Regions from separate parts of the Homo sapiens genome. Here regions 1 and 2 are each linked to region 3. Evidence: promoter capture Hi-C in 16 types of primary human blood cells and fetal thymus (Javierre and others, 2016). All regions are on one chromosome and are shown on one strand. The core of a region is centred on a gene start or on the middle of the fragment in contact, and the rest is flanking DNA. Distances in the headings are between cores, read along the strand shown. Region 1 overlaps CTNNA1 (catenin alpha 1). Region 2 overlaps CTNNA1 (catenin alpha 1). Region 3 holds the start of SNHG4 (small nucleolar RNA host gene 4).

Evidence for each region. The method cuts DNA at HindIII sites, captures the fragments that hold promoters and counts their contacts. A CHiCAGO score of 5 or more calls a contact.
Region 1: a contact is called between a fragment that was not itself captured here and the fragment with the promoter of SNHG4 in region 3, in 1 of 17 cell types (endothelial precursors). The highest score is 5.7, in endothelial precursors.
Region 2: a fragment that was not itself captured here is called in contact with the fragment with the promoter of SNHG4 in region 3 in 2 of 17 cell types (endothelial precursors and megakaryocytes); the score reaches 5.8 in endothelial precursors.

The regions. Positions count from the first base shown.
Region 1 is chr5:138,931,965-138,935,253 of GRCh38, reverse strand. It overlaps CTNNA1 (catenin alpha 1), which reads right to left. Exons shown (of 18, transcript NM_001903.5): 17 at 2,542-2,676; 18 at 220-1,452. The coding sequence ends at 1,165. Among named protein-coding and RNA genes, the nearest start is that of LRRTM2, 58 kb to the right of the region's middle. The HindIII fragment of the contact is 3,561 bases long and covers 1-3,289 here.
Region 2 is chr5:138,846,290-138,849,542 of GRCh38, reverse strand. All of the region lies in intron 7 of CTNNA1 (catenin alpha 1), which reads right to left. Among named protein-coding and RNA genes, the nearest start is that of LRRTM2, 27 kb to the left of the region's middle. The HindIII fragment of the contact is 971 bases long and covers 1,488-2,458 here.
Region 3 is chr5:139,272,481-139,275,524 of GRCh38, reverse strand. SNHG4 (small nucleolar RNA host gene 4) reads right to left here and starts at 1,424. Exons shown (of 7, transcript NR_182757.1): 1 at 1,364-1,424; 2 at 911-1,161. It overlaps LOC124901081 (a long non-coding RNA gene), which reads left to right. Exons shown (of 4, transcript XR_007058956.1): 4 at 1,871-2,458. It also overlaps a transcript of MATR3 not described here. RefSeq lists a silencer at 1,351-1,430 and an enhancer at 1,721-2,070. The HindIII fragment of the contact is 4,492 bases long and covers 1-3,044 here.

The DNA.
Region 1 (3,289 bases), core at 297-2,796, 340 kb after region 3:
TTCCCAAGGTGGGGGTGCAGGGTGGGGCACTCAATAGGACAACGGGCATGGCCCTCCCTGATGGGTTGGCACGAGCCGTGCAGCCTAGAGCCACAGACAGTTTCCCTCCCGGGCATCCCCATCCTGGAAGAGACGGACACCGGGAGGGCCCAGAGCACCACAGATACTGCGGGCAAATCTATGACTTGAAGGCAGAGAAGACGACTTTGGGCTCTTGGATGTCGTGGTTTCATAGTGGACTTTATTGGGAAAAGTTAGTTAGTGTAAAAAACATTCAAATTAATTCATAAAATTTAAATAAGGTGATAGTAAATTATACCTTGTAGTTAATAGTAATCAATCAATCAATCACTACAGTAATCACAAATAAGGTAAAGTCTAAATTACTGCCTTAGCAAACACTATGTTGTCAGGTTTTTCTGCTGCAAGCCCAAGGCGGGAAACACTGCAGTTATTAGAAGTGAGCCCAATGATGAATTTGCATTTGAAGCTGGGAGAAAGAGGAAAAAAAGTGTGTTCTGATTATGGCATCGAGACACTGTAGCCTAAAAAAGCAACTTTATTAATGTCCTGCAGCAGCGTACATTAGTAATTATAACAATGCATTAAAATTTTCATTTCATGTCATAGAGAATCAGTTTTCTTCATGATACATTATGTTTTACTGAGTGAGTTTGTCCCTCCAGAGACCTTTCTGGGAACATGCCTTCTCCAGGGACTGCTTCCTAAGATGCCCAGGTTGCTTACCACAGGTCATCTTTGGTCATTTAAAAGCAGTCAAGCTGTCTGGACTGCACCCTCTCAACTGAAGTTGAGCCAAATTCCCTTCTCTCAAACCCTAACGCCGCCATCACTAAGAGAATGGGCATCTCGGCTTGGTCAGAGCATTACTAACAAGCTAATGTGGGATTCTCTTTGGTTATGAATTTTTATTTTTATTTAAGCATACAAAAAATACAGCTAGAAGTAGGCTCCTGCATTCTAAAAGCATTTTTAATCAACTTAAACTATGTTCTTGGAAAATTCACCACCTGGACTGGTTCAGTCTGCCCATTTCCCTGTGGAATCTAGTATCAGTGTTGTATTTAGCAAATTCATTTGAGTGACGAACAGTGACTGATATTCAGGAGCCCCGAGGGGTGGGGGCGGCCGGCCTGGGCAGACTTAGATGCTGTCCATAGCTTTGAACTCGCTGAGGGCCTGCACCGGGTTCACGTGCTTCTTCTGAGATGCCCGTTTAATCTTGGTCTGTGTCTCATCCTGTTTCTCTCTCTTCACCAATGGCTTTTTCTCTGGTGCCTTCATCTTCCATGACACAGCAGGAAGGTTGAGGGAAGCCATACCCTGTGACTTTTGGTATTTGGTAGAGGCGACGTAGGATGCCTTCACTGTCTGCACCACAGCATTCATCAAGTTCTTGGCTGCCTGGATCAGGGACATGGCGCTGTCCACCTACGAGGCAGACAGGGGTGGTAAGAAGCACCGGCCTGACCTCCAGCCTCGTGGACACAGGTGGGCTGTGCTTGAAGGGGAGCCCCCTACTCCTCTGCAAGACCAGGGCCTGGGCAGGTCGCAGAGGATTGGGCAGCAGCCTGTTCCTGAAGAACACCCTCAACGGCTGCTCTTATCTAAATAGCCTGGAAGCGCCTGCCCTCAGACCCTTTGGAGAAGACATGAGGCAACCTCGCCTTGCTCACCCCCACCCCTCAGCAAGTGTTTATTCACTCAAACCAACTGGAAGTCACTGTAAGTGATCCCAGAGCTGTAAGCACGTGGGGGAGGAGAAGCAGGAATCGAGACAGGGATGTTTATGGCAAAGCAGATGAGCAAATGGTCTCAATATGTTCAATATAAGAAGTGTTTCTTTTAAAGGAAATTCAGTGGGATTAAGAGAAGCCATGGAGGCTCGGTGGACCCCAATCCACTCAGCAAACCTCTTCTTTCCCCTGCCCTAGGTGAGAAAGGCCTCAGAACTGTGATGTGGTAAAAAGAAAGAGACGCTACCCAAGCACTCTGAGGAGTGAAGGGCTTTTGAGAAAACACCCTATCTATGTCTACTCTTAATTCCTCTCTGGGGGAAGAAAAGGAAGTTTTGTTTTGTTTTGTTGTTTCGTTTTGTTTTGAGACAGTCTTGTTCTGTTGCCCAGACGGGAGTGCAGTGGTGCCATCTCGGCTCACTGCAACCTCCATCTCCCAGGCTCAAGTAATTATTGTGTCTCAGCCTCCCAAGTAGCTGGGACTTACAGGTACCTGCCACCACGCCCGGTCCCAAGGAAGATTTTTAAAAATTCCTACCCAGTGAGTGGCCAGCAAAGGGGAGGAGGCCAGCCTTTCAGCCCTTGCAGTGCCCCGCAGGTGTCACAGTTCTACAGGGAACAGATGATGGACAGACCTTGGTCTCCAGAGACTGGGACAGGACTTGGAGTTTCTGCACAGCACACTTTCCCAGGGCAGGTGTTTATGCGGATAGGAGGTGACTTTCATTTCTGACAAGGGTCAGCACGTTCCCACTGGCCCTCTTTTTGTTCAGCTAATGCTTACCCCAGAGACAACAAGCTCCCCGCCGAGATTCTGCACCTCGGCCTTGACCTTGCTGCAGATGTTCAGCTGGTGGCAGTAGAGGGCGATGCGTTGCAGGTAGGCCAGCAGGTCCTGCTTGCAAGCCGAGTCGGGGCACTGAAGAGAGAGCAGGCTTAACACCAAGTATCCTGGCCTGGCCCAAGCACCCCCGACCCCACGGCTGTTTCTGAAAGGTTCAGTGTGGCACTCACATGCTTCCTCTCCTCTTGCTGGAGCAAAATCACCCAATTACCTGAGGCAGTCACAGCCCTTGCCTACACTCTGCTTGGGGATGGAGGCGGGTGAGCTGATGGAAGTCGTCCATGGGACCCTGACTGCGCCGCATGGCACTGGTTGTATAGCCAAGGCCTTCTGAGCCTCCCACTGACTTCCCTCCTATGACGGCGGGGAAACCACCCTGGCCAAGGATCCCCTCACCCCAAACGGCAGGGTGGAGGCCCATGCCCCTCGAGGTGAGAACAAGCCGGCTCAGCAAGCAGGAGCCTGGCTATGGAGAAAAGTCCAGATGTTTTTAGCTAAGTAAACAAATAGTTAACTCTTCTGCTCTGAGGCACTTTGCGTTATTAATGCCTGATGACAAAAGCCACTCACTGCAGGCTGAGGTGGAAGACAAGTGAGTAAAGTAAAGCAAGAAAAAAAGCAGTTGGGGATGGTCAAAGAGAAAAGGGTGGCCCCTGCCCAGTTCCTGTCTCGCTCCACATCTCAGAGT
Region 2 (3,253 bases), core at 724-3,223, 430 kb after region 3:
CTCTTCAGAGGTTTAAGAGCTCTAAAGACAGAGAATGTTATAACATGAAAGGGAAAGAGAACTTCTAGACCTCACACTGCCTGTCCTACCGTCTTTGTTTTTGTTTTTGTTTTTTAAATACATAGGCTATGCCTAGGTTTACTGTTTTTGGTTAATTATTCAACCAGTTCTAGGGTGTGTAAATTCTCTTAAACAATGAGATAGTGGGTTTGTTAAAACAAAAACAACAAAACCCTATTCATAATAGCTTTTTCCTCTAGTGCTAATTTTAAAAAAAAATAGAGAGGAAATACAACTTATAAAAAATGAACATGAAACTACATGAATAGTTACAGTATTCAAATAAACAGTCTACTTCAAATGCAATCACCAAATAAAGCCAAAACCAGTAGGAAAGAATAATCAAGAAATTTTATACAGAGATGCCTATACAAAACTCAATTCAGAGAATGAACACTGACGATCAGAGCCATGCTTCCCCATGCCAGATAACTCAGAATTAACAATAAAGAAGTATGCCAGGCAGGGCAAGGTGGCTCACGCCTGTAATCCCAGCAATTTGGGAGGCCGAGGCAGGCATATCATGAGGTCAGGAGTTCGAGACCAGTCTGACCAACATGGTGAAACCTTGTCTCTACTAAAAATACAAAAATTAGCTGGGTATGATGGTGCATACCTGTAATCCCAGCTACTCAGGAGGCTGAGGCAGGAAATCACTTGAACCCAGGAAGTGGAGGTTGCAGTGAACCAAGCTCACGCCACTGCACTCCAGCCTGGGCGACAGAGAGAGACTCTATCTCAAAAAAAAGTATGCCAGGCCCAATCAAAATGCACATTTTAATAGTAAAGAGAGCATATTATGAATCTAGGAATAAAGCTACCAACTTCAGGCAAGACAGTTAAGACAAATGGAGAGCAATAAAATAAGCTATGCAGCACAGTCAACAGGGACACAGTCTTTAGACATTATTATCAGAATACACATGTAAAAGGGAAAATTCTCCAAATGTATTTGACCATGACTGTAAAAGAAGAGAGAAGAAAAGGGGGAGCAGAGAGAGAACTAAGCTCTTGGAGGAGAATGATAAATGCAATGGCTCTATGAAACTACTGGAAATCAGAAGAGCTAAAAAAACAAACAAACAAAAAAAAGAGGACTTAAAGTGTGAACAATTCAAATATAAATTATTAGTTATAGCAATGTTAATAGTAACACTAGTATTAACAGCAGTGGTTGTGCCTTACATGACTCTTTTCTATACACTTGCAACCATGATGGGTGCATAGGCACCATTATCATCCCCAGTTCCCAGTTGAGGAAACATAGACTTGGGAAAGCTTAGGTAACTTTTCATGCTCAGTGCAGCTGTCAAGACTAGAACAGTCTCTCCATAGAAAATCCCTTCAATAACAAATTTATCTTTATGCCAACAGCATATATGCATTAGTAAATGTAGTTCAAACATCTCTGGAAGGAAAGCAAAGCTTCAAATTAGGTAGAATTTATTACCCAAGAAGCAAGACCCCTGAATCTCAGCTAGGTAAAGAAGAACTTAAAGAAACAGAGGTGCCACTTGATTTATCTCTAGAAACACAGGTAATTATAAGTGCTCCCAACAAGTTCAAAACTAACAAAAGATATACTGGCCTATACAATCTCTGCTACTTTCAGCTTTTACTCAGTACCACATAAAGAAACACAAACTTAATGACTATTAAGCTCCAAAGCAACAGAAATGGGAGTTGCCCAAATGTTTCCTTTTTGTAATGCATCAAAAGTTTACTTGGGGCAGCAAAAATATGCTCTATCTCCTAGTACATCAATTTAGAGAGAAATGCCCCTCCCCCAAAATATGCCCCACAAGCAACTGCCCACACTGATCTAAGGGTGACCACCTCTACCGTAACACATCTTTCTTACTTCCTGCCACAGTGCCTGAAATCCCACCATCAGGTTTCTCTTCAAGAATTTTCTTTTCAAAAGGAAAGTAAATATCCCCCGAATAAAGCAACAATAAAAAGTGGACAGGGGACATTATATTTGAATTCTTCAACTAATACTTTGACTAAGAAATTATGACATCGGCCTGCCACTCATGCCTCTAATCTCAGCACTCTGGGAGGCTGAGGCAGGAGGATCACTTGAGCCCAGTAGTTCGAGACCAGCTTGGACAATGTAACCAGACCCCTATCTCTAAAAAAACAGAGGGAGGGAGACAGGGAAGGAGACAGGGAGGGAGGGACTACGCCGGCTTTAAAAAGGAATGTTGTCAGTCTCCTCTTCCCTCCAAAAGGTGAAAATCCATGCTGTTGAACTACAAGTACTACCCAATAGAAGCAAAAAAGTAAAAACCTATTTTTAAGTAAATAAGTTAATGTTGCTAAAACAAACCACTTCACTTAAAACTTCTGCTACATCTTTTTTTGCAATTCCTTCAAGTGGGCCTAGAACAAAGCTTTCAGATACTACCATGTATTTAAGAGTGCCAATATTTCAACCAAAATACCCAACCCCAAAGCTCTGACTGCAAATAATAATCCAAACATGTAATTAATAGAAAAATTAGTTCCTTTTCATAGTTCTCAGAGCTGTATAATCAAATTCTAGGTGATTATATGCAGAATCTTCTAATAATCCAAACCATTCAAAAATCTTTAAGGGCTAACAATGTACATAATGTAGAGATCTAACACTTTTTCAGAGAGAAGACACCCTGCCCCCAAATGAAAAACACTCAGCTTGAAATGACACCTGTTCAGTATAATTTGAGGGGTTTTTTTTTAACTATTTTTAATTCAGCAATCCTTCATTCAACATTTGTATAATTTAAATGAAATAGTCACAGAAAATTGTAGGCCATTAGTTTGTCCCATACAAAGTCAGAAGATTAAAGAGGTCAACAGTGTACACAATATAGGATTTAATGTAGACCATGTAATTCTGGTGGCAATAACAGACACAGGCCGTGTTTCAAAATGGGAAAAATACTCTTTACTTCATGTAAGATGAACAAATTGCCTGAACTCCTACAGGAAATATAATTTAAAATACATATCACATCATTAGCAAACTGACATGTGAAACGCATGTAAATATCTTTAAATAATTTTACAAATATATAAGATAATTATCTACTGATACAGATTATATACTGATATAGGTCACCTAAAATTCACCCATTGATAGTGTACAATTTAATGTTTTTTTGGTTTATTCACAGATATGTACAACCATTACTACAGTCAATTTTAG
Region 3 (3,044 bases), core at 175-2,674:
AAGGCTTAGATGGTGAATATGAGTGAGTAAAAAGGGAAAAGTTATCCAGTGAGAGAAACGGGCAGTGAACAGTGGGAACACTGGATAGAGGAGGGCCTCCAATACTTCCTGAAGGACAATAAAAACAGCACTTGGAAAAATAACTGCAGTATTGGATGTGAGGGGAATTGGAGGCAGTAGTCGTGCCAAGACCTCAACTACTGATTAAAAGCAATAACGAAAATGTTAGGCCGGGCGCGGTGGCTCACGCCTGTAATCCCAGCACTTTGGGAGGCTGAGGCTGGCGGATCACGAGTTCAGGAGATCGAGACCATACTGGCTAACACGGTGAAACCCCGTCTCTACTAAAAATACAAAAAAAAAAAAAAAAAAAAAAAAAAAATTAGCCGGGCGTGGTGGCGGGCACCTGTAGTCCCTGTTACTCGGGATGCTGAGGCAGGAGAATGGCATGAACCCAGGAGGCGGAGGTTGCAGTGAGCCGAGATCGCCCTACTGCACTCCAGCCTGGGCAACAGAGCAAGACTCCGTTAAAAAAAATAAAAATAACCAAAATGTTTGCACAAATGATAATAAATATTCCTACACAGTCACCATTTTTTTTTAGACGGAGTCTTGCTCTGTTACCAGGTTGGAATGCAGTGGTGCTATCTCGGCTCACTGCAATCTCTGCCTCCCGGGTTCAAGCGATTCTCCTGCCTCAGCCTCCCGACTTCAGGCGTGCGACACCACGCCCAGCTAAGTTTTGTATTTTTAGTAGAGACGGGGTTTCACCATGTTGGCCAGGATGGTCTTCTTCTCTTGACCTCGTCATCCGCCCGCCTCGGCCTCCCAAAGTGCTGAGATTACAGGCGTGAGCCACGCGCCCGGCCTCACAGTCACCATTATAATTTATGTAAGGCTAAGATCATACCTTTTTCCAGCCATCCCCAAATTTCACTCCTGACTTCCTCCAAATAATTTAGAGGAACAGGAAAATGAGTAGAGAGGGTTCATTGTTCGCTGGGTCTAAAAACAGATCTAAAAATAGCCTGCCCCTTTCAAGGCTCGGGTTAAAGGGGCTGACTCAGTTCCACCGGACATTTGTTCCTCACAAACCTTCCAAAGTCCCTGCCTCTGGCCCTGGGAGATCGAGGCTCTCGGAGTCAGGCTCTATGGGACTCCCTAGGGAGAAGAGGGAAGAGGGATGGTAGAAAAACAGGGGACGACTCCGAGGCCCAAGTCTCTTTCAGATGCCCTCCAAGCTCGGGATCACGAGGGGACGAACCCCAATTTCGTCCCGTGCCCCGGCAGAAGCCACCCTGCACTGCTTCTTTCCCCAGGCTGGGAAACCTCCAAGGACTCTCCCCTCTGGGTCCTTACTCACGCGCACGTGTTCGGAGCTCCGCAGGGCGCAGCAGCACCGGCAGAGGCCGGAGGGGAAAGGGCAGCCGGGAGCCGAGGGGAACCCCGCCCCGGGGCGGCTACTGGGCGTGGCTTCGGTGGGCGGGGCCCTTGACCCCGCCTAGGAAAGGCCGGGCTTTAAAAAAAAAAAAAAATGCGAGTGCGGTGGCAGAGGTGAACCTGCTTCTTAGAGGAGAGAAGGGCTGGGGTCTGAGCAATGGCTGGGTTTGTTGGACTCCCATCCCATCTCTTAAGGGTAGAAGGGGCGCATAGTTCGCAGCTGCTCAGGAGAGAATCTGTGTGTCCTAGTGGAGCCAGGCTTCCTGCCTGCCCACACTGAGCGCCCCCGGAACGCTGGTTCCGCTCACGAGCGTGGCGCCTTTCCGTTGCTGCAGGCCCAGCCCACGCTTTTGCGCTTCCCACGCATATCCTTTTTCTGGCTTTCTGCGGCAGCGCTGTCATTCGGCTAATGGATCGCTCACCCACGCAGGTCACCTTGGTCCACGGTCTTCGGGATCTTTCCAGGAGGTTTTCGAATAGATTAAGCCAGTCACTCCTACTGCTGACCTCTGCAGGACCGGCCTCCCTAGTGCCCTGCAGTGGGATTCTTCGCCGAGCTGCAGTAACTGAAGAACACTGGCTTTCTCTGCTAGACTTGCCCTGCACCATGGCACAGTCAGGCAGAGTCCTTGGTCAGGACAGACTGCCTGCAAGGCTACCAGGATTTCTTTGGAACACTAAAACTTCCCTCTCCCAGTGGCTAGAGTCCATATGATTCTGCTGGGGTCCAGAGTGGAAGGCCTACAAGCAGTGATTCCCAACTCCATTCTCTAATTCCCCCAAATTCCTTTCCGACACCCGCCCCCCAACAACAACAACCAATCCTGTAAGTTTTGCTGATCTCTTGCACCTGGCACCATTGCCAGGTGAACCCCTGGGAACCAAGCCACTGCCCTTGGCATCTGCCAACATGTTTCATTGTCTATTTCCTCAGCTCTTTCATAATGAAAAAGGTATGCTTCTTGTGCACCCCAACTCTTGCAGACCTCTCCTAAGAAAGCCCAGAGCCCCAGTTTGATTCCAGCAAGAGACCCTAGGCTGTAGGGCCAAAGAGCCACTGGAGGGGAAGTGGCAAGCTCAAATCCTCCCCAGTTTTGATGCAGTTGGACATAGGCTCTGGTTGGGAAAAGGCTTACATAAATACAGTAATTTAAAAAGTCACATGACCAGTGCTGGGCTGGTAGGCAGGAGCTCTGCTTTGCAGTTAAATAGGAATGTGGCTGAAGACTGCTGCCATAATCAATGCCCACATCCGGCTGTCACAGCGTGTTCATAAAGGAAGGTTATGAGAGCTATAAAACCAGGCAGATTGGGTGGGTAATTGTCCTACCGAGCTCTGCTAAAGGAGAAATTGCATTGGCATCTCATATATTTCGCTTTCTTTCCTTCCAAACACACAAAGTGGAGAGGGCAGAGCTACCCTGAAGATTCATGAAAAGGAAAGATAGGGTGTGTGTGTGTGTGTGTGTGTGTGTGTGTATGTGTGTGTGTGAATGTGCATGTGTGCTTTCAGAGAAGAGACAAGAAGTAACTGAGGACAGGGAGCTATGCAGACCTTTGGGGAGAGAGGGACCAATAATCTGGTGATGACTGGATTCAGATTA